Regions from separate parts of the Homo sapiens genome. Here all the other regions are linked to region 1. Evidence: promoter capture Hi-C in 16 types of primary human blood cells and fetal thymus (Javierre and others, 2016). All regions are on one chromosome and are shown on one strand. Each heading gives the region's core, a stretch centred on a gene start or on the middle of the fragment in contact. The rest is flanking DNA. Distances are from core to core; before and after follow the strand shown.

Region 1 (3,832 bases), core at 483-2,982:
TGACCTCGTTACCCGCCCAACTCAGCCTCCCAAAGCATTGGGATTACAGGCATGAGCCACCTCGCTTGGCCATATTTTTAAAATTTATTTTTTTTTTGAGATGGAGTCTTGCTCTTGTTGCCCAGGCTGGAGTGCAGTGGTGTGATCTCGGCTCACCGCAACCTCCACCTCGTCTGTGTTCAAGTGATTCTCCTGCCTCAGCCTCTCGAGTAGCTGGGATTACAGGCATGCGCCACCATGCCCGGCTAATTTTGTATTTTTAGTAGAGATGGGGTTTCTCCATGTTGGTCAGGCTGGTCTCTAACTCCCAACCTCAGGCAATCCGCTTGCCTCAGCCTCCCAAAGTGCTGGGATTACAGGCGGGAGCCACTGTGCCTGGTCACATTCAGCTCTTAAATGTGACTTTGCCAGGCATTATTTGATTAGGAGCATTTGACTTCCCGAATCTTTCTTGCAGGCATCGTGACATTAGCTGGCATTATCTTAGCAAGGATAATGGTTTTTTTGTTTTTTGTTTTGTTTTGTTTTGTTTTGTTTTGTTTTGAGATGGAGTCTCACTCTGTAGCCCAGGCTGGAGTGCAGTGGCACGATCTTAGCTCACTGCAAGCTCCGCCTCCTGGGCTCAAGTGATTCTTCTGCCTTAGCCTCCCAAGTAGCTGGGATTACAGGCACGCGCCACCATGCCCAGCTAATTTTTGTATTTTTAGTAGAGACGGGGTTTCACCATGTTGGCTAGGCTGGTCTTGAACTCCTGACCTCATGATCTGCGCGCCTCGGCCTCCCAAAGTGCTGGGATTACAGGTGTGAGCCACCGCGCCCGGACTAGCAAGAATAATGTTAAGCCAACTCCAAACCTCTCTTAATAAAATTGGGCAATGGGGTGGGTTGTACCTGGGTGGGTCTGAGTTTCTGCTACAGTAGGCCCTCAATAAATGTTTGTTGGGCCCGGCGCCCTGGCTCAGGCCTGTAACCCAACACTTTGGGAGGCTGAGGCGGGTGGATCACCTGAGATCAGAAGTTTGAGACTAGCCTGGTCAACATGGTGAAACCCTGTCTCTACTGAAAATACAAAAGTTAGCTGGGCGTGGTGGCAGGCGCCAGTAGTCCCAGCTGCTTGGGAGCCTGAGGCAGAATCGCTTGGACCCGGGAGGCGGAGGTTGCAAGTGAGCGCCACTGCACTCCTGCCTGAGCGACAAGAGCGAAACTGTCTCAAAAAAAAAAAAAAAAAGCTTTTCGAATTCAATATAATGGGCTTTATGGGATGGGGTGACATGGATGATCTTTGAGTAGTGATTAGATTTTCACCTTGTATCAATACACTATATAATTCCTTAAAATAAATAAACGTACATACTTCAGAACAGGAACTTTATACTTCCTAAGGGAAATAATCTTGGATGGAGGTGATTTGCCACAGAGGAAATGCATAATTGGTACTCAAGTGGAAATGATTATTATTTGTGATGCAACGTCACATGCTACCTAGTTCAGTGCTCTGTGAATTAGGTGATGCAAACAGAATATTGTTGCTTGGAACGGTAGCAATTTTGCTGTTTTTAAAAGGCGGCGAAGAGAGCGTCCCCTTCCAAGGAGAAAATCTGGTGAGATTCCTTTAAAGTGCGGCCCGCGCGCCCCGCAGCCTGCCCCGGAGCTGCAGGGTTTGCGCCCCGCGGAGGTGAGGGCCGCTAAACCACATTTCCCGGCGAGCCCCTCAGGCTGCCGCGCCTGCGCAGTGGTGGCGTCCGAGGCCGGCCGAACTCCCGCGCTCTCCCGCCGCCTCGCCTCGCCTGGTGTCTCTCCCGACCATGGAGGGGGTCGCGGTGGTGACGGCGGGCAGCGTAGGCGCTGCCAAAACCGAGGGAGCTGCAGCCTTGCCGCCTCCGCCTCCTGTCTCCCCGCCCGCCCTCACCCCTGCACCCGCAGCGGGTGAGGAGGGACCGGCGCCTCTGTCTGAGACGGGGGCTCCCGGCTGCTCCGGCTCCCGGCCCCCTGAGCTGGAGCCGGAGCGCAGCCTGGGCCGCTTCAGAGGCCGCTTCGAGGACGAGGACGAGGAGTTGGAAGAAGAAGAGGAGCTGGAGGAGGAAGAAGAGGAGGAGGAGGAGGACATGAGTCACTTCTCGTTGAGGCTGGAGGGAGGCCGGCAGGACTCGGAGGACGAGGAGGAGGTATTTAGAGCCCCCGCGCGACCCCGCTGGGCCCAAGCGGCGTCAGGGACGTAGCTGGCCCTCGTCTGCCGGGCGCCGGCCCGATCCTAGTGCGCCGCCGCCGCGCGGAGCACTGGAGCGGACCTCCCCCGACCTCTGCCCCGGCTGCCTAGGCGTGTGGCGCCGACAGGCCTCCGGCCCGGCCTGGGTCTTTACCCGCTTATTTTGTGAAGTTCTTGCAGGTCACTTAGGCTCTGCGAGTCCAACTCATTCGTTCTGTTAATAATTATAATTATTTTGAGACAGGGTCTCCCAGGCTGGAGTGCAGTGGCGCGACCATGGCTCACTGCAGCCTCCAACTCCTGGCCTCAGGCGATCCTCCCGCCTCAGCCTCCGGAGTAGCTGGGACTACAGGCACGCGCCACCACGCCGGGCTAATTAAACATTTTTTTTTTTTTTTGTAGCGAGGAGGGCTCCCTATGTTCCCAGGCTGTTCTCGAACTCCTGGGTTCAAGAGATTCTCCCTCTCTGGCCTTCCGAAAGATTACATGCGTGAGCCACGTTGCCTGTCCTGTATAATTATTGAAGCTACTGCTTACTAGGCAGTAAAGATCCTTTTGTTTTGTTTTGTTTTGTTTTGTTTTTGAGACGGAGTCTCGCTCTGTCGCCCAGGCTGGAGTGCAGTGGCGCGATCTCGGCTCACTGCAACCTCCGCCTCCCAGGTTCAAGCGATTCTCCAGCCTCAGCCTTTAGAGTAGCTGGGACTACAAGGCGCCCGCCACCACGCCCGGCTTATTTTTTGTATTTTTAGTAGAGACGGGGTTTCACCGTGTTAGCCAGGATGGTCTCGATCTCCTGACCTCGTGATCCGCCCGCCTCGGCCTCCCAAAGTGCTGGGATTACAGGCGTGAGCCACTGCGCCCAGCGTAAAGATCCTTTTGAAACAATAATTTGGCTGGGCGCGGTGTGGCTCACGCCTATAATCCCCGCACTTTGGGAGGCCGAGGCAGGCGAAACACGAGGTCAGGAGTTCAGCCTGACCAAAGCGGTGAAACCCCTTCTCTACTGAAAATACAAAAAGTAGCGGGGCGTGGTGGCACGCGCCTGTAATCTCAGCTACTCAGGAGGCTGAGGTAGGAGAATCACTTGAATCTGGGAGGCGGAGGTTGCAGTGAGCCGAGATCTTGCCGCTGCACTCCAGTCTGGGCGACAGAGGCAGACTCCCTCTCAAAAAAAAAAAAAAAAAAACGGAAAGAAAGAAACAATAATTTATATTGTGTTATTATTGTAACTTTCAGTAGTCTTTTAATGGGTTGGAGGTGTATGTTTCCATGTTGCAATGACATTTTGAGATTATGGTTTAAGGTTTTGAAGAAGGTGGACTGAGCGCGGTGGCTCATGCTTGTAATCCTAGCACTTTGGGAGGCCTTGGCGGGTGGATCACCTGAGGCCAGGGGTTCGAGACCAGCCTGGCCAACATGGTGAAACCCCATCTCTACTAAAAATACAAAAATTAGCCAGGCGTGGTTGTGCGCGCCTGTAATCCCAGCTACTCGGGAGGCTGAGACAGGAGAATCGCTTTAATCCAGGAGGCGGAGGTTGCAGTGAACCGAGATGACATCACTGCACTCAGCTTGGGCTACAGAGTGAGACTCTGTCTCAAAAAAAAAAAAAGAATTTGTAAAAGG
Region 2 (3,832 bases), core at 594-3,093, 480 kb after region 1:
ATCATCAGTATTCATAATCTTTTATCTCTTAAGAATAGTATAACTTTGCCAGGTATGATGGCTCAGGCCTCTAATCCCAATGACTCAGGAGGCCGAAGTGGGAGGCTTGCTGGAGGAGAGCAGTTTGAGACTAGCCTTGGCAACACAGCAAGACCCTCTCTCCCATATAGAAATTTAAAAACTAGCTGGGCATGGTGGCATGTGCCTGGAGTCCTAGCTACTCAAGAGGATTGTTTGAGCCCAGGAGTTAGAGGGTACAGTGAGTGTCACTATCTGGACCCCTCTAACTCAGGAGTTAGAGGGGTACAGATAGTGACACTGCATTCCAGCCTGGGTGACAGCAAGACCCCATTTCTATTAAAAAATATAACTTTTTGTAATGTTGTTATTTACTTTTATAACAACACATTTTATCTTTAAAATATTATCCTTAAAATGTAAGGCAAATGAGTGATCAGGAACTTAACATTTTATTTAGCTAATTTCAAAAACCTGGAAACCTGGAGATCTAGATTCTATAATAGTGTTTCTACCTTTTATAAGTACATTTTTGGTGGAGATAGTGAACTGGCGTGTAAAATGACATACTAACAAAGACATCACTAAATCATTAAATCATTTCTATATAGATATTTGTATTTGAGTTCTATGACAGCTTTGTAAACCAAAAATCTCAAAAATCTGTTGTCAATTTAAAAAAAAATTTTGGCCAGGCACAGCGGCTCATGCCTGTAATCCCAGCACTTTGGGAGGCTGAGGCAGATCATGAGATCAGGAGTTCAAGATCAGCCTGACCAATATGGTGAAATCTTGTCTCTACTAAAAGTACAAAAATTAGCTGGGCATGGTGGCACACGCCTGTAGTCCCAGCTACTAGGGAGGCTGAGGCAAAAGAATTGTTTGAACCCAGGAGGCGGAGGTTGCAGTGAGATGAAATCCTGCCACTGCACTACAGCCTGGACAGCAGAGTGAGACTCCATCTCAAAAAAAAAAACATTTTTTTAGAGGCAGTGATCACACTATATTGCCCAAGCTGCACACAAACTCCAGAGCTCAAGCAATCCTCTTGCCTCAGCATCCAAGTAGCTGGGAGTACAGGCATGTACCACCCACCCAGCTAGAATCTTTTTTTTTTTTTTTTTTTTTTGAGATGGAGTCTCGCTCTGTCTCCCAGGCTGGAGTGCAGTGGCACGATCCTGGCTCACTGCAACCTCTGACTTCTGGGTTCAAGCTATTCTCCTACCTCAGCCTCCCGAGGAGCTGGGATTACAGGCACGCACCACCACACCCAGCTAATTTTTGTATTTTTAGTAGAGACAGAGTTTCTCCATGTTGGCCAAGCTGGTCTCAAACTCCTGACCTCAGGTGATCTGCCCGCCTCGGCCTCCCACAGCACTGGGATTACAGGTGTGAGCTACCGCACCTGGCTGAATATTTCATCTACTATCATGAAGATACACATCTCATGATACAATGAAGGCTGTGGAGCTCCTGCAAGCTTTCCTTTTAGCAAGTAGTTAATGTAAAAGTTCCATCTTCTGTAACTTCCCAAAGATCTGAAATCATGACAGATAAGAAATCAGAAGCCCTGAGAAACACTGTACATGCTAGAAGAGAGTATATTCAAAGCAATCATTAGTAGTCAGTGCAAAGATTCCTATAGCTCCACAGATGCTCTTCTAGGATCATGTACAGCAGCAAATAGGAGAGACAGTCAAGAAAGCAAATACCTTAACACATTCAGTGACAACTGTCACCTCGGATTTACTACCTTTTGCAACCTAAGAGGGAAAGTAATCCATATCCGGGGTATTCCTGCCCCTTCCCCCTTTTGCCACCCCTTATTCATTTAATGGATAAATTAAGAGAGTTTGAGCTCTTAGTTCAAGGGGGAACAAACAAGACTTAACCCATCAGCTCTTACTGATGTTCAAAGATAATTTATCTCACTCTCCTCCTCACCTTCAGCACCCGATATGCCTCCTGAAGCACTTGTTGTTTATCAGGCACAAGGTTAATAACACAGTTTGATCTAAAAGAGAACAGATGAAATGTCGAGCAAATCTTCACAACACTCAGAGATCTGCAAATCCTTTCAGACCCTAAAGGTGGTTCCCACCGTTCTGTCAAAGCTACCCCATTCTTACCGCCTCCCTCCTCTCTTTCTAATGCCTTCAACTAAGCTTTTCCCCAAGATCAGAGACAGAGTGCTTAAAATCTCAATAAATTGTTAGCAAGTTTGAATGTGCAGAAAATAACATCAGGCATGATTCTTACTTGTTTCTGTCCTGATGTTCACCATGTAACAAGATGAAACCTCAGACCAGATGCCTACTGCACAAGGCATTTCTTTCTTTTTTTTTTTTTCCCGAGAGGATGTTTCACTCCTGTTGCCCAGGCTGGAGTACAATGGCGCAATCTCGGCTCATTGCAACCTCCGCCTCCCGGGTTCAAGTGATTCTCCTGCCTCAGCCTCCTAAATAGCTGGGATTACAGGCATGTGCCACCACACCCAGCTAATTTTTGTATTTTTAGTAGAGACGGGGTTTCGCCATGTTGTTCAAGCTGGTCTGGAATTCCTGACCTCGTGATCCACCTGCCTCGGCCTCCCAAAATGCTGGGATTATAGGCGTGAGCCACCGCACCTGGCCGGCACAAGGCATTTCTTATGCTTCACGTAAACAGGCTATGTTCCTCAAAGGCAGCTGTCACTTGGGCATGATTTGACAATAACAACTTGAGGGAAAAAAGGAAATAGAATCCTATAATTTACCATGAAAATATTATGAAAGATACAGGTCAGCATGTATTGTAGGAGCAAACTTAGTGGTCCTGCTGGTCTTTTGGGTTCATTGGTTTGTGGTTAAGTTTCAAGTAAGTTCCCTCTTGGTCTGGTGTGTTCTGCTGCTGGTGAGCTCCAGCAGCTCAAACCAGCTCTCTCCCATTAGTAAGCCATGCTAAGTTTAGTTTAACACCCTAAATGAGAGTCAATTCAGCAAACAGTAATAGTGACATCTCTGTGTTCAAAAGGAAATGAGGGCTGAGCACAGTGCCTCACACCTGTAATCCCAGCACTTTGGGAGGTGGAAGCGGGTGGATCACCTGAGATCAGGAGTTTGAGACCAGCCTGGCCAACATGGTGAAACCCTGTCTCTACTAAAAGAAGATTTAAAAAATTAGCTGGATGTGGTAGCGTGTGCCTATAATCCCAGCTACTTGAGAGGCTGAGGCAAGAGAATCAGTTGAACCCGGGAGGCAGAGGTTATCGTGAGCTGACATTGGGCCACTGCACTCTGGCCTGGGTGACAGAGCGAGAGTCCATCTCAATAATAATAATAATAATAATAAAGAAAATGGGCTATAGTCATAACAGTAAGAATATAGACCTACACAACAATATCATGGCTCTCATTCTTGATTCCAGCCTCTCCCAACTTCTCAATGTAGCCATGAATAAAAGTCACATTAGATGCCTGGAAGCCATATTTTTCCATGTGATAGTCAAGATACTTTTCAGCCACTTCCACCTAAAGTAAGAAAAATATAGTTTTGATAACATTTTGAAAAAAATACACAACTTTTTCCTAAAAATTTCCTATCACTAACAGAATATACTTCCCCTAGATTATTTTGGATAAACATACAAGATTCCTGTGGACACGTAGGATATACTACAACCTGGGACATAAACTCCCTGCTGCCCGTGCAGTTTGGCTTGAATAAACTCCTCATTCAATAACAAAATCTTTCAGGATAGATGGCAGCAAGAAGGGAAAGATCAAAGTCCACTCTATCGTCACGATATTCATATCAGAGCAAACCTCCGACTCTT
Region 3 (3,832 bases), core at 537-3,036, 400 kb after region 1:
AATCATGTATTTGAGTCTTTTCTCCCCTATTAGATAGTAAGTTCTATAGTGGTCGTGCTTTAGGTATCTTTTATAACTAATAGAGTGCTAGGAACATATCATGGACTCAATAAACCAGTATTATCAAACAGATTGGTAAACTGTGACTTTACTGATAAGCTTATTCACAACCCAATAGTTAGGATGGAGTGTGTCTCCTCATCAGAAGGTAGTAGTGATTTATTTGTTGTTGTTGTTATTATTATTATTGTTATTATTATTATTTGAGATGGAGTTTCACTCTTGTTGCCCAAGCTGGAGTACAGTGGCGCAATCTCGGCTCACTGCAACCTCCGCCCTCCAGATTCAAGCACCTTCCAGATTCCTGCCTCAGCTTCCCTAGTAGCTGGGATTACAGGCACGCGCCACCACGCGCGTATTTTTAGTATTTTCTCAGTAGAGATGGGGTTTCTCCATATTGGCCAGGCTGGTCTCGAACTTCTGACCTCAAGTGATCTGCCTGTCTCGGCCTCCCAAAGTGCTAGAATTACAGGCATGAGCCACTGTGCCCGGCCACTAGATACCATTTAAATCACTACTACCGCCAGGTGTGGTGGCTCATGCCTGTAATCCCAGCACTTTGGGAGGCTGAGGCAGGCGGATTACCTGAGGTCGGGAGTTCAAGATCAGCCTGACCAACATGGAGAAACCCCTTCTCTACTAAAAATACAAAATTAGCCAGGCGTGGTGGCATGTGCCTGTAATCCCAGCTCCTCAGGAGGCTGAGGCAGGAGAATTGCTTGAATCGGGGAGGCGGAGGTTGCGGTGAGCCGAGATCACACCACTGCACTCCAGCCTGGGCAACACAGCAAGACTCCACCTCAAATAAATAAATAAATGGTATCTAGTGAACCTGACAAAGCAATGCTCATTGTCAGATATGAGTCCATTGCCTAAATTTAGCTTTAATGCACAAGAGCTGGACACTGTAGTTGGTGCTGTGTCAGTCAGAGAATACCTAAGTTCTCCAAACTCAAGGTTCTCTCCTAAAAAGGCAGAGTGCCATAAAAGAGAGCAGCGTATGTGAGGTCAGACAGCTTCCAGTGCCAGGTCTACTTCTGCTTACTAACTGCATGATCTTTGACTTTTCGGGCCCCGGTTATGAAGATAATATCTATATTTTGCCTCTCTCTCTCTATCATTGAAAGGGGGGTTGGTAAAGCCTTGTCCTTTTTGGCATCTTCAAATCAATCATCCTCTCCCCATCCCAACCACCCAGCTGTCATCATTTCTTACCAGACTTCTGCAAAGGCCTCCAAATGCCAGTCTCTGTCTCTCCACATCTTTTCTCTCTCCTCATCAAAAGATTTTCCACACAGAAGACCTTTTGAAAATGCAACTCTAATAATGTCATGCTCATGTACCCCCAATACTTCAAGGACATATTGTTGCTCTTAGAAGAAATCCTGGAACCCTTAGTGTGGCCTGCAAGGTCTGCCTGCTGGAGTCCCTGCTTGCTTCTGCTGACTTCGCCAATAGCATCTTGTACCACCCAACCTACCCCTCAACATGCACACACACAAATTATTTGTGTTCCAGCCACACTAATCATCTTTCAGCTCCTTGAGTGTACAATGTTACCTCCCACCTTATCATGTCTCCCTGCAATAGTCTCTTTTCCACACCCAAATTTCCTCTAGTTGACGCCTACTTATCTGTCAGATCTCAAGTCACCCAAAAGCTACTTTCTTCCCTCCCGTCCCACCTGCCAATATTCTCAGGGCACTAAGTACTTCTCCCCCACAGCACATGCAGATGAGTTTATTCGTGTGATGATTTGCTTCATGTCTATCTCCCCCACCAAACTGTCAGCACCAGGAAGACAACAACAATCTTGTTCACCAAAAGACATACAATGTATGTTTCAAGAAAGAAGTGATCTTTTGAAACCTGATAATAGAAAATTACAAGATGAATGTTTTTACCTGTGTGGGGTTTTTGTTTGTGTTTGTTTTTTTGTTTTTTGAGAGGGAGTCTCGCTCTATCCCCAGGCTGGAGTGTAGTGGTGCAATCTCGGCTCACTGCAAGCTCCACCTCCCGGGTTCACGCCATTCTCCTGCCCCAGCCTCCTGAGTAGCTGGGACTACAGGTGCCTGCCACCACGCCCGGCTAATTTTTTTTTGTATTTTTAGTAAAGACAGGGTTTCACCGTGTTAGCCAGATGGTCTCGATCTCCTGACCTCGTGATTTGCCCGCCTTGGCCTCCCAAAGTGCTAGGATTACAGGCATGAGCCACCGCGCCTGGCCTGTTTGTTTGTTTTTGAGACAGAGTCTCAGTCTGTCAACCAGGCTGGATGGAGTGCAGTGGCGCAAACTCAGCTCACTGCAACCTCCATCTCCCAGACTCAAGTGATTCTCCTGCCTCAGCCTCCCAAGTAGCTGGGATTACAGGCGTGCACCACTACGCCCAGCTAATTTTTGTATTTTTAGTAGAGACAGGGTTTCACCATTGGCCAGGCTAATCTCAAACTCCTGACCTCATGTGATCTGCCCACCTCGGCCTCCCAAAGTGTTGGAATTACAGGCGCGAGCCACTGTGCTCAGCAGTCAGTGGTTTTTTTTCTTCATTTTTCTTCACTTTATAAGTATTTCCAAATATTTTTAAAATTCTAGCCAATATATAACATCATCACAATGAAAAACACTAGAAGACGCATACATCTTTCTAAAACAGAAACAAAGTCGTTTCAAATTAGAAACTTCTGCTTGCCTGAACTTATTCACAGCTTTAGAACAGTGTGAAACATGACTATTAAATATAAAACTGAACCCTTTATAGGGTTATTTTAAAACCCAGGGAACTATAAAAGGATTATAGTACCTATGAAGCAGTAGGAAAATGATTAAAATGTATGCCAGGGAAGGGATTACAAAACATATGACTGGAGAATTTATGGCAGTGGGGTTAGTAACTATAAACTAGTTCAGAGTAAGTTAGTATTTATGAGAAAAAAAATCAGTTCTTCAATGGTTCACATGTCCTATCTCATCAACATTTACTCTGAGTAAAAAGTTCTGGCATTTGGTGAAGAGCTACTCAGATACATGCAGAATTGTATTTGAAGGGGAAAAAATGGATACTAACATATTAAGTATGGCATGTGTTTTGTTCTTTCTCAGATCACAATATTGTTTTTTCCAAGTTGGTTATTAACATGTTGTAGTTTTTCCTTATTTAAAAAGTAAACATCTGGAAAATAAGTACCATGACAAAGTCTCCAATCCTTTCTTAACGGTGCTTCAAGTTCTATCCCGGTTGCAAATCAAAATAGTGAAGTAACTCTTTCAGGCTACAGAAAACACTAAAAGTGCAGAACAGAAGCAGTAACACCTCACGGGTGTTCAATTATTAATGTACTTCCCCTGAAGCTTACCCTGTTTAACCTAGGAGTGAAGAATTTGGGCTCAAAGGAGTTGCACAAGCAGGGAAGAATAGATCTTTAAAAAAACAATACTTTGATTCAAACAACAGCTAGCACAAGTGCTTTAAAAAAGTCCTGCATGATAGAAATTACCCCCGTGAGAGACTTTTCTGTCAATATACAAGTTCAATTAGTATCACTAATTGCTTTTAGGTATCCCTAAAAGCAAAATGGAAAAGATTCCGGACAACAATCAATATATCACAAGAATAATCAATATGTACATTAAATGTAGGGCAAAGAATCCTAAGAGCCAGTCAAATCAACTGCTCACAATTCTCCCAAACACAACCTTTCTGCCTCTGTGCCTTTCCCAGTATTGGTCCCTGCAACTAAAATGTTCTGACCCTCCCCCAGCCTCTGGCCTCCTT
Region 4 (3,832 bases), core at 781-3,280, 360 kb after region 1:
AGGTTTCAGTCTAAAACGTATTAACACCCCTGACTACAGTAAGGGTCTTGAGACCCTATCTTTGTCCCACGCCTTTTCAATATTTCTATTATTATTTTTTTGAAACAGCCTCGCTCTGTTGCCCAGGCTGGAATGCACTAGGTGCAATCCCGGCTCACTGCAACCTCCGCCTCCCAGGTTCAAGTGATTCTCCTGCCTCAGCCTCCCAAGTAGCTGGGATTACAGGCGCCCACCACCACTCCCGGCTAAGTTTTTTTGTATTTTTAATAGAGACGGGGTTTCACCAGGTTACCGAGGCTGGTCTCAAACTCCTGACCTCAGGTGATCCACCCGCCTCGGCCTCCCAAAGTGCTGGGATTACAGGCATGAGCCACCATGCCCGGCCTTTTCAATATTTCTAAATCAATTAAGTAGCGTGGTGCATACAGCTGATTAACAGGTCTCCAGAATTATCTGCTGCCACAGTTCAGGTCTTCACATTGAGGCCTCAGAGAGAAGACAGTGGACTCTGACCTTTGGCTCTGGTCTCATTATCTTTGGAACCTTAATTTCCAAAGGAAAATAGTGATAATTCCTGCCCCACATTTCACACAACTGTTGGGGGTGACAATCTTGAACCAAAGATGTAGGGTGTTTTATTTTTGTTAGAGCAGAGGTTGCAAACCATTTTTGACTATGTATTCTATGAAAATGTTGAGTACACCTCCCTAATTTATATTTACTTATAAATTATATATATTACAAAATATATACATCATGAAATCCATATAAAAATAAGCTTGGCCGGGCGCAGTGGCTCAAGCCTGTAATCCCAGCACTTTGGGAGGCCGAGGCGGGCAGATCACGAGGTCAGCAGTTCGAGACCATCCTCGCCAACATGGTGAAACCCCACCTCTACTAAAAATACAAAAAAATTAGCCAGGCGTGGTGGTGGGCACCTGTGGTCCCAGCTACTCAGGAGGCTGGGGCAGGAGAATGGCGTGAACCTGGGAGGCGGAGCTTGCAGTGAGCCGAGATCACGCCACTGCACTCCAGTCTGGGTGACAGAGCGAGACTCCGTCTCAAAATAATAATAATAATAATAAGCTTAATGTATATGCATATTCATTCATATATATATATGTAAGTCCTACTGCATCCCAAGGCACAGCTACATGCAATTTACCTTGAGGACTACCGCTTTAGAATATATCATTTTCTTTATGGTTCTCTAATTTCTTCTTCTTCCTTCAAACTCTCCACCCTCAGCCTTTGTACCCTAAACCCTCTGGTTTTCTTCCTCTGAACATTCTCCTTCAGCAGTTTACTTCCTGCTTCCATCTTTTAAATTTGAGCTTTCATATTAGGTTTTCTGCTCTTCTGGGGACACCCTCCCTTGGCAATGTTGTCTTACTAACCATCAGCAGAAATCTGTGCTTGTTCCTTCTGTGTTCATCTGCAACTACTGAAATTTATACTTGAATCAAAATATCTCACTATTAGCAAATCACCTAGCCCACCCTACCCATATGTCAACACTTACACAAAATCCCTATTATTGCTTATCCAGCTTCTGCTGAATCACCACCTCTAGTAATATAATTCTACGATCTGGAGGATAAAAACTTTTTTTTTTTTTTTTTGAGACTGAGTCTTGCACTGTCACCCCGGCTGGAGTGCAGTGGCGCAATCTCGGGTCACTGCAAGCTCCGCCTCCCAGGTTCACAGCATTCTCCTGCCTCAGCCTCCCAAGTAGCTGGGACTACAGGTACCTGCCACCATGCCCAGCTGACTTTTTTTTTTAAGTAGAGACATGGTTTCATCGTGTTAGCCAGGATGGTCTCAATCTCTTGACCTCGTGATCCGCCCACCTCGGCCTCCCAAAGTACTGGTATTACAGGCGTGAGCCACCGCGCCCAGCCACAGGACATTTTCAAATGGCTCTACTTTTTGGAAATTCTACTTTGATTAAGCTGAAACTAACTTCCCTATAACTTTCACATTAATTCCAGTTTGGCTTCTGAGGCTTTACAAATGGTCCATCACCACCCATACTCGGGAGAATCACTTGAACCCGGGAGGCAGAGGTTGCAGTGAGCCGAGATCACACCACTGCACTCCAGCCTGGGTGACAGAGTGAGACCGCCTCAAAAAAATAAGATAGAAGTAAGGACAAGATCACACAATTATATTTCAGTTATAATCTAGGCTTAGATTGTCAAATATCTAGTTGTAGAGTGAGCACTACCCTAAGCCTTTTACACACTCAAGTCTAAATCACATGCATTATCTTTGTAATCTTAAAATTTAGTCACATGATGACTTTCTCTAAGTAAAACAGGGCAAGTGAACATCGGAGCTAGTCCAAGCCCTATAAACCAAAACAGGTACTGAACATGACAGGTACATCAGGGCAAGCACAGACATGGTCTGGAGGTAAGGTGCAATCACTTTGGCACCAAGCTAACAGGTAAACAGATAACACTAGATATTTAAAAAACTTGTGGGTCTCCAAGCTGATGGATAATACTCTGAAGTCTGAACATGCCAACCATTTAGGAGACATCACTCCTCAGTTGGCAGGGCCCATTCACTTTGTTTAGAAGGCCCCCCTTTCCCAATCCTTTTACTAGTCCCTTGAACAGCTGTCATTAAATGATTACACTGTTGCTAAAAGACAGCTATTCTATCAATCTGAGCTGGTCATGTAAACAAAACAAATATTCTGCTGTAGAATAAGGCATAAAGTACTTATCTAGCCCCTAGGAACTTCCCAGGTAACTCAAGTTGTCTGGCCACGCAGTTTGGAGACTTGATGGCTAGAAAGAACATGACTAAGAGTAGCCAGTAGGATGTCAAGGAAGAACCTGAAGGAGAACATAAGTGAGACAGGGTCTGCTGGTTAGTTTAGAGCCATTCCCTTGGAAGAAAGGGACCATAAACACTTCCTGTATCTAGCTTTGATGAGGAGGAGCTTGGTATGTAAAGAAGCTTTCAGAGTTCTCAATGATGTTGACACAGAAATTCTCTCAGCCCCTTTGCCGGACTCACAGCAGAATTTTAAAATTTTAAAATTCTTTTTAAAGAATTTTGGCTATATCAGACAAAATAGGAATATACAGAGGAGGACTGCTAATTACATGAAACAAGAGGGTGAGAAGGGGAAAAACTTGTTTCAGATGGAAAGGATCCGCTATTCAAATTGTTTTAGAAAAAAAAGATAAAACAATCTGCAGCAATTTAGAATTCTCAAGGTCTGCCAGGGTTTCCTACACAAAGCAGGAATTTTGCCCAACTGCTGCAGAAAGTTAAAAAGAAAAAAAAGACTTTCCCTTCGTTATTTCCTTTTCATGTTAGAAAATATTAGCAAAATTCATCGCTTCTCGGCCTTTTGGCTAAGATCAAGTGTAGAAAATATTAGCAAAATTCAGTCTTTTTTTCTGTCCTTAACAAACTGACATTTAAAATAAGAGTAAAGCCCGGGCACAGTGGTCAAGCCTATAATCCCAGCCCTTTGGGAGGCTGAGGTGGGTGGATCATTTGAGGTCAGGAGTTAGAGACCAGCCTGGCCAACATGGTGAAACACCACCTCTACTAAAAATACAAAAATTAGCCAGGCGTAGTGACAGGCGCCTGTAGTCCCAGCTACTTGGGAGAATCACTTGAACCCGGGAGGCAGAGGTTGCAGTGAGCCGAGATCACACCACTGCACTCCAGCCTGGGTGACAGAGTGAGACCGTCTCAAAAAAATAAGATAGAAGTAAGGACAAGATTACACAATTATATTTCAGTTATAATCTAGGCTTAGATTGTCAAATATCTAGTTGTAGAGCGAGCACTACCCTAAGCCTTT
Region 5 (3,832 bases), core at 853-3,352, 280 kb after region 1:
AAATACAGTTTTCTTTGTAGAGATAGATCTCCTTATGTTACCTAGGCTGGTTTTGAACTCTTGAGCTCAAATAATCCTGTCTCACTGTCTTGGCCTCCCAAAGTGCTCCCAAAGGGATTACAGGCGTGAATCACTGTGCCTGGCCTGTGATGTTTACTTTCTGTGAGTCCACTTAGTATCTTCCCAATATCTGTAGTTCTTGGATTCTTCAGGAGGCCTCCAGCAATGGAAAGGTGGTGCTCTTGCTCCATCAGTGGGACCAGCACCAAGATGATGCTGGGCGATGGCTGCCTAGGCTGTCCAAGGAGCCAGGGCCGGGGCTGAATCAGGGTCAAGGGCCGACATGGTTTGTGGCCATGGAACAGAGAGGAATAACCTGGGTAGAACCCACTCTGTCTCACGAGCACGGTGTCCTGACCACTGAGCAGACCCCTCGCAGGCTGGTAACTTGCTGTCTACACTCCTGGAGGCACTTAAATTCCATGGGATTTTTCTCCTGTCTTGGAAAAGCAGTTTGAAGAAAGTCTCCTTCCATTAAAATAAAGTTCCCCTCTCCTCCCCCTAAGATTTTCCCTTTTCTTCACTTTCGCTAACTTGTCGACAACTTCTTCTTTACCTTGATGAGTTCTTTTGGGATAGAGTGTCTTATTCATCCCTGGAACCCCAGGGTCCACTATAATCCCTGCATGGTAGGTGCTCATTGTGTTTTCTGGGCTACTGAAATGCTCTAAGTCAGTTTCACTTCTAGTTTCTCAGGCCAAGGGTCAGAAATGCTCTTGTTCCCATTACTACAACTGTGTGAGGCATCCTTTACAATGGGTGAACAAAAATTAAGATGCCATGTATTGAAAAGGAATTGTGCTAACACATCAGTGTTTTATGAATTCATTTAATGTGCACAACTCGATGCAGCAGACAAATCATTGCCCTCCTACAAATCAGGGGAGGGGGGATCAGCAAGATTTAGTAAAGAACAAGCTCTTCATCAGGATGCTAGGAGGCTGGGAGCAGTGGCTCATACCTGTAACCTCAGCACTTTGGGAGACCGAGGCAGGCAAATTGCTTGAGCCCAGGAGTTCAAGATCAGCCTGGGCAACACAGCAAGACCCCATCTCTACAAAAATTAGCCAGGCATGGTGGCGTGCACCTGTAGTCTCAGCTACTTGGGAGGATTACTTGAACCTGTGAGGCAGTGAGCCATGATCACGCCACTGCACTCCAGCCCAGGCCACAGAATGAGACCCTGTCTCAAAGAAAAAAAAAAAAAAAAGATGCTATGCCACCTGATGCAAACTATCATTTTATATTAAGTTTCCAATTACAAAAGGTCTTTCTTGGGCCATAGCTTCAGGAGAAGAACTACTGCCTCTCAGGTTTTCCTGCTCAACAGAAATGACAGTTCACCAGTCCCTAGCCAATTATCTTGCCGTATAAACTTACAACTCCACCCATGATATAAAATCCACCTGCAAATGGGCAGGTGCTACAAACCTTCCCCACACAGGCAGGGCCCTAGAGATGACACTGTGGAGTCGGAGATGACAGCCGTCATCCCCCACGGGCTGACCATGCAGCAGGGACAGGCGAGCACATGAGAAGCAACAGCCCACATGGCACACAAGAGCTCAGCATGAGGAAAAAGACATTGGGAACAGAAGCTCCCAGAAAAATCTTACTTCTTGTTCTTATATAAAGACAAATCGCATACAGGAAGGAAAAGCTGTGGATGACCAAGAGAAAGGGACAGCATGAGGGAGGCCCAGGGTGGCGGCAGCGGCCGGCCAGGCTCTGTGTTTGCAGGGAGGAGTGAGGGCACATCTGGAAGGCAGCTGGGTGAGCAGATCCCCAGGCAATGGGCTGGCAGGGTTGGGTCCTGGGTGGAGGAACAGAGTCTGCTTCCACGAGGGTGGCAGCCACAGGCCTGGGGAGGGAGTGCGGTAGAGAAGCTATTGATAAGGGACCAGCATGATTCGAAGAAGCCATCAGGGAGACAGGAGTATAGGAACCAGAGGCCCATTGGGAGGGGCTGAGGAACAGGGACACCACGAGTGGGAGAAAGAAGGTCTGGAGAGAGGTCAGGGCTGGAGATGGGGACCTGAGACAGGAAAAGGACCGAAGCTCAGCCCGTGACTGAGAGCAGCAGGGAAAACTGAAACCATAACAGGACCATGGCAGAGCCTGAAAAGGGAGGCCCAGACCACGGCACCATGGCAGAAGAGCAGGGGTCAGGAGAATTCCAGGGGCAAGGACGGTCAGGGCCTCAAGGTGCTCAAGGCCGCCGGGAGCAATCACTGACCACAGGCCGCTGGGGGCTGCAGGAGGCTTTCCTACCCTACAGAGGAATCAGTGGGAGGACAGTGGCCCCGGCAGGAGAGGGACAGGCAGCAGGACATCCCCATCTGTGGGGCCATGGGAAGGCTGTTGAAAATTCAGGACTCTGGGTGCTGGGGAAGTCCCTGAAGTAGGGTCCCTTCAAAGAGGAGGGGAGGAACAAGGTTCAGAGATAGCAACACACACAGGAGTAGCCACGGTACATGTCTCCCCAATTCCGTGTCCATCTCTTCCTGAACTGACATGTATGTGCTGGCTGCAAATGTCTGCTTTGTAGTTTGTAACCTCAAGAGTGGCTGCGTGACCAGCTCTGAGCCTGACCCTCCATGCAGGAAATCAGGAGGAAGAGTCAAATGCAGTGGAGCCTCATGGTGACTTCCGTTCCTGGGTGTCTCCAGTTATCTGGAGCATTTGTTGTACAAGTTACAGGGCCTTTTGTGTTGTGTCCCTGCAGACAGATGCCAGGTCACTATTCTTTGGAGATAAAACTGTCAGGACTAGTAGGGCAGGCACAACCAAAACAAGACTGTAAAACAGAAAACTGTACATCTTTTTTTCTATTTAATCCATAGGTTCACACCATCTGTCTCTTGGAAGCGTGCGGTGGTTCCACTCTGAGGCCTGAAGCTCTGCCTTGCACACTCAAAGCAGAGATTCCCAGATTACCGACTCTGGCTCCGGCCCTCGGGCATTCTCATTTAACAATATAGGTGAATCTGGGCATCAGGATTTTATTTAAAAAGATTTCCGGGTGATTCTAGCAAGCCACAAACTTTGGGAATCATTGCTTTAAGGCTCTGTCTGTGAACAATGGCCCCAGCCCTGGAAACTGTGTGCCCTGGCCTCTCAAGGGACTCCCTCAAAGGCAGTGTAGCTGAGTCAACTGATTAAGCAAGGGCGGCTGCAAGACTCAAAACTCCAGACCACTGCCATTCCAGCTGATGCTTCCTCTGTCCTTCCAGACAGGATCCCAGGCAGGGGAGGATCTGCCATCTTCCCTCTGGACTCCATCTAGTTGAGATTCACTGCTGCGGGGTGGATATGCTAAGCTCAGTGATTCCTAGACATTTCCATCCTAACGGCCAGTAAGACGCACCTCTACAGAGACAGATACAGGGAAAGATACGGGGTTGCCAAATTTTTTTTTCATAAAGATGGTTTTAAAATTTATTTTTTCAGACAGGGTCTTACTCTGTCACCCAGGCTGGAGTGCAGTGGTGCAATCATGGCTCACCGCACCGGTGGTGAGAATCCTGCAGCCTTGAACTCCTGAGCTCAAGCAACACTTGTAACTCAGCCTCCTGAGTAGCTGGCACTACAGGTGTGCACCACCATGCCCAGCTAATTTTTCTATTTTTTTATAGAGACGGGGTCTCACTATGTTTCCCAGGCTGGTCTTGAACTCCTGGCTGATCCTCCCTCCTCAGTCTCCCAAAGTGTTGGGATTACAGGCATGAGCCACCGTGCCAGGGCAAAATAAAGGTATTTATTTTAAAAAACA

What was found. The method cuts DNA at HindIII sites, captures the fragments that hold promoters and counts their contacts. A CHiCAGO score of 5 or more calls a contact.
Region 2: a contact is called between a fragment that was not itself captured here and the fragment with the promoter of PCGF6 in region 1, in 5 of 17 cell types (endothelial precursors, M0 macrophages, naive B cells and 2 more). The highest score is 7.2, in endothelial precursors.
Region 3: a contact is called between a fragment that was not itself captured here and the fragment with the promoter of PCGF6 in region 1, in 1 of 17 cell types (endothelial precursors). The highest score is 6.1, in endothelial precursors.
Region 4: a fragment that was not itself captured here is called in contact with the fragment with the promoter of PCGF6 in region 1 in 1 of 17 cell types (endothelial precursors); the score reaches 5.2 in endothelial precursors.
Region 5: a contact is called between a fragment that was not itself captured here and the fragment with the promoter of PCGF6 in region 1, in 1 of 17 cell types (endothelial precursors). The highest score is 5.5, in endothelial precursors.

The regions. Positions count from the first base shown.
Region 1 is chr10:103,349,040-103,352,871 of GRCh38, reverse strand. PCGF6 (polycomb group ring finger 6) reads left to right here and starts at 1,732. Exons shown (of 10, transcript NM_001011663.2): 1 at 1,732-2,165. The coding sequence starts at 1,806. RefSeq lists a silencer at 1,604-1,833 and an enhancer at 1,999-2,504. The HindIII fragment of the contact is 2,980 bases long and covers 1,232-3,832 here.
Region 2 is chr10:102,872,792-102,876,623 of GRCh38, reverse strand. AS3MT (arsenite methyltransferase) reads right to left here. Exons shown (of 11, transcript NM_020682.4): 5 at 3,391-3,527; 6 at 1,963-2,032. BORCS7-ASMT (BORCS7-ASMT readthrough (NMD candidate)) reads right to left here. Exons shown (of 15, transcript NR_037644.1): 9 at 3,391-3,527; 10 at 1,963-2,032. Among named protein-coding and RNA genes, the nearest start is that of AS3MT, 5.2 kb to the right of the region's middle. The HindIII fragment of the contact is 685 bases long and covers 1,501-2,185 here.
Region 3 is chr10:102,946,224-102,950,055 of GRCh38, reverse strand. The region is part of intron 1 of CNNM2 (cyclin and CBS domain divalent metal cation transport mediator 2); the gene reads right to left. Among named protein-coding and RNA genes, the nearest start is that of CNNM2, 30 kb to the right of the region's middle. The HindIII fragment of the contact is 3,249 bases long and covers 162-3,410 here.
Region 4 is chr10:102,984,570-102,988,401 of GRCh38, reverse strand. All of the region lies in intron 1 of CNNM2 (cyclin and CBS domain divalent metal cation transport mediator 2), which reads right to left. Among named protein-coding and RNA genes, the nearest start is that of CNNM2, 68 kb to the right of the region's middle. The HindIII fragment of the contact is 1,884 bases long and covers 1,089-2,972 here.
Region 5 is chr10:103,064,535-103,068,366 of GRCh38, reverse strand. The region is part of intron 4 of CNNM2 (cyclin and CBS domain divalent metal cation transport mediator 2); the gene reads right to left. Among named protein-coding and RNA genes, the nearest start is that of NT5C2, 130 kb to the left of the region's middle. The HindIII fragment of the contact is 4,469 bases long and covers 1-3,832 here.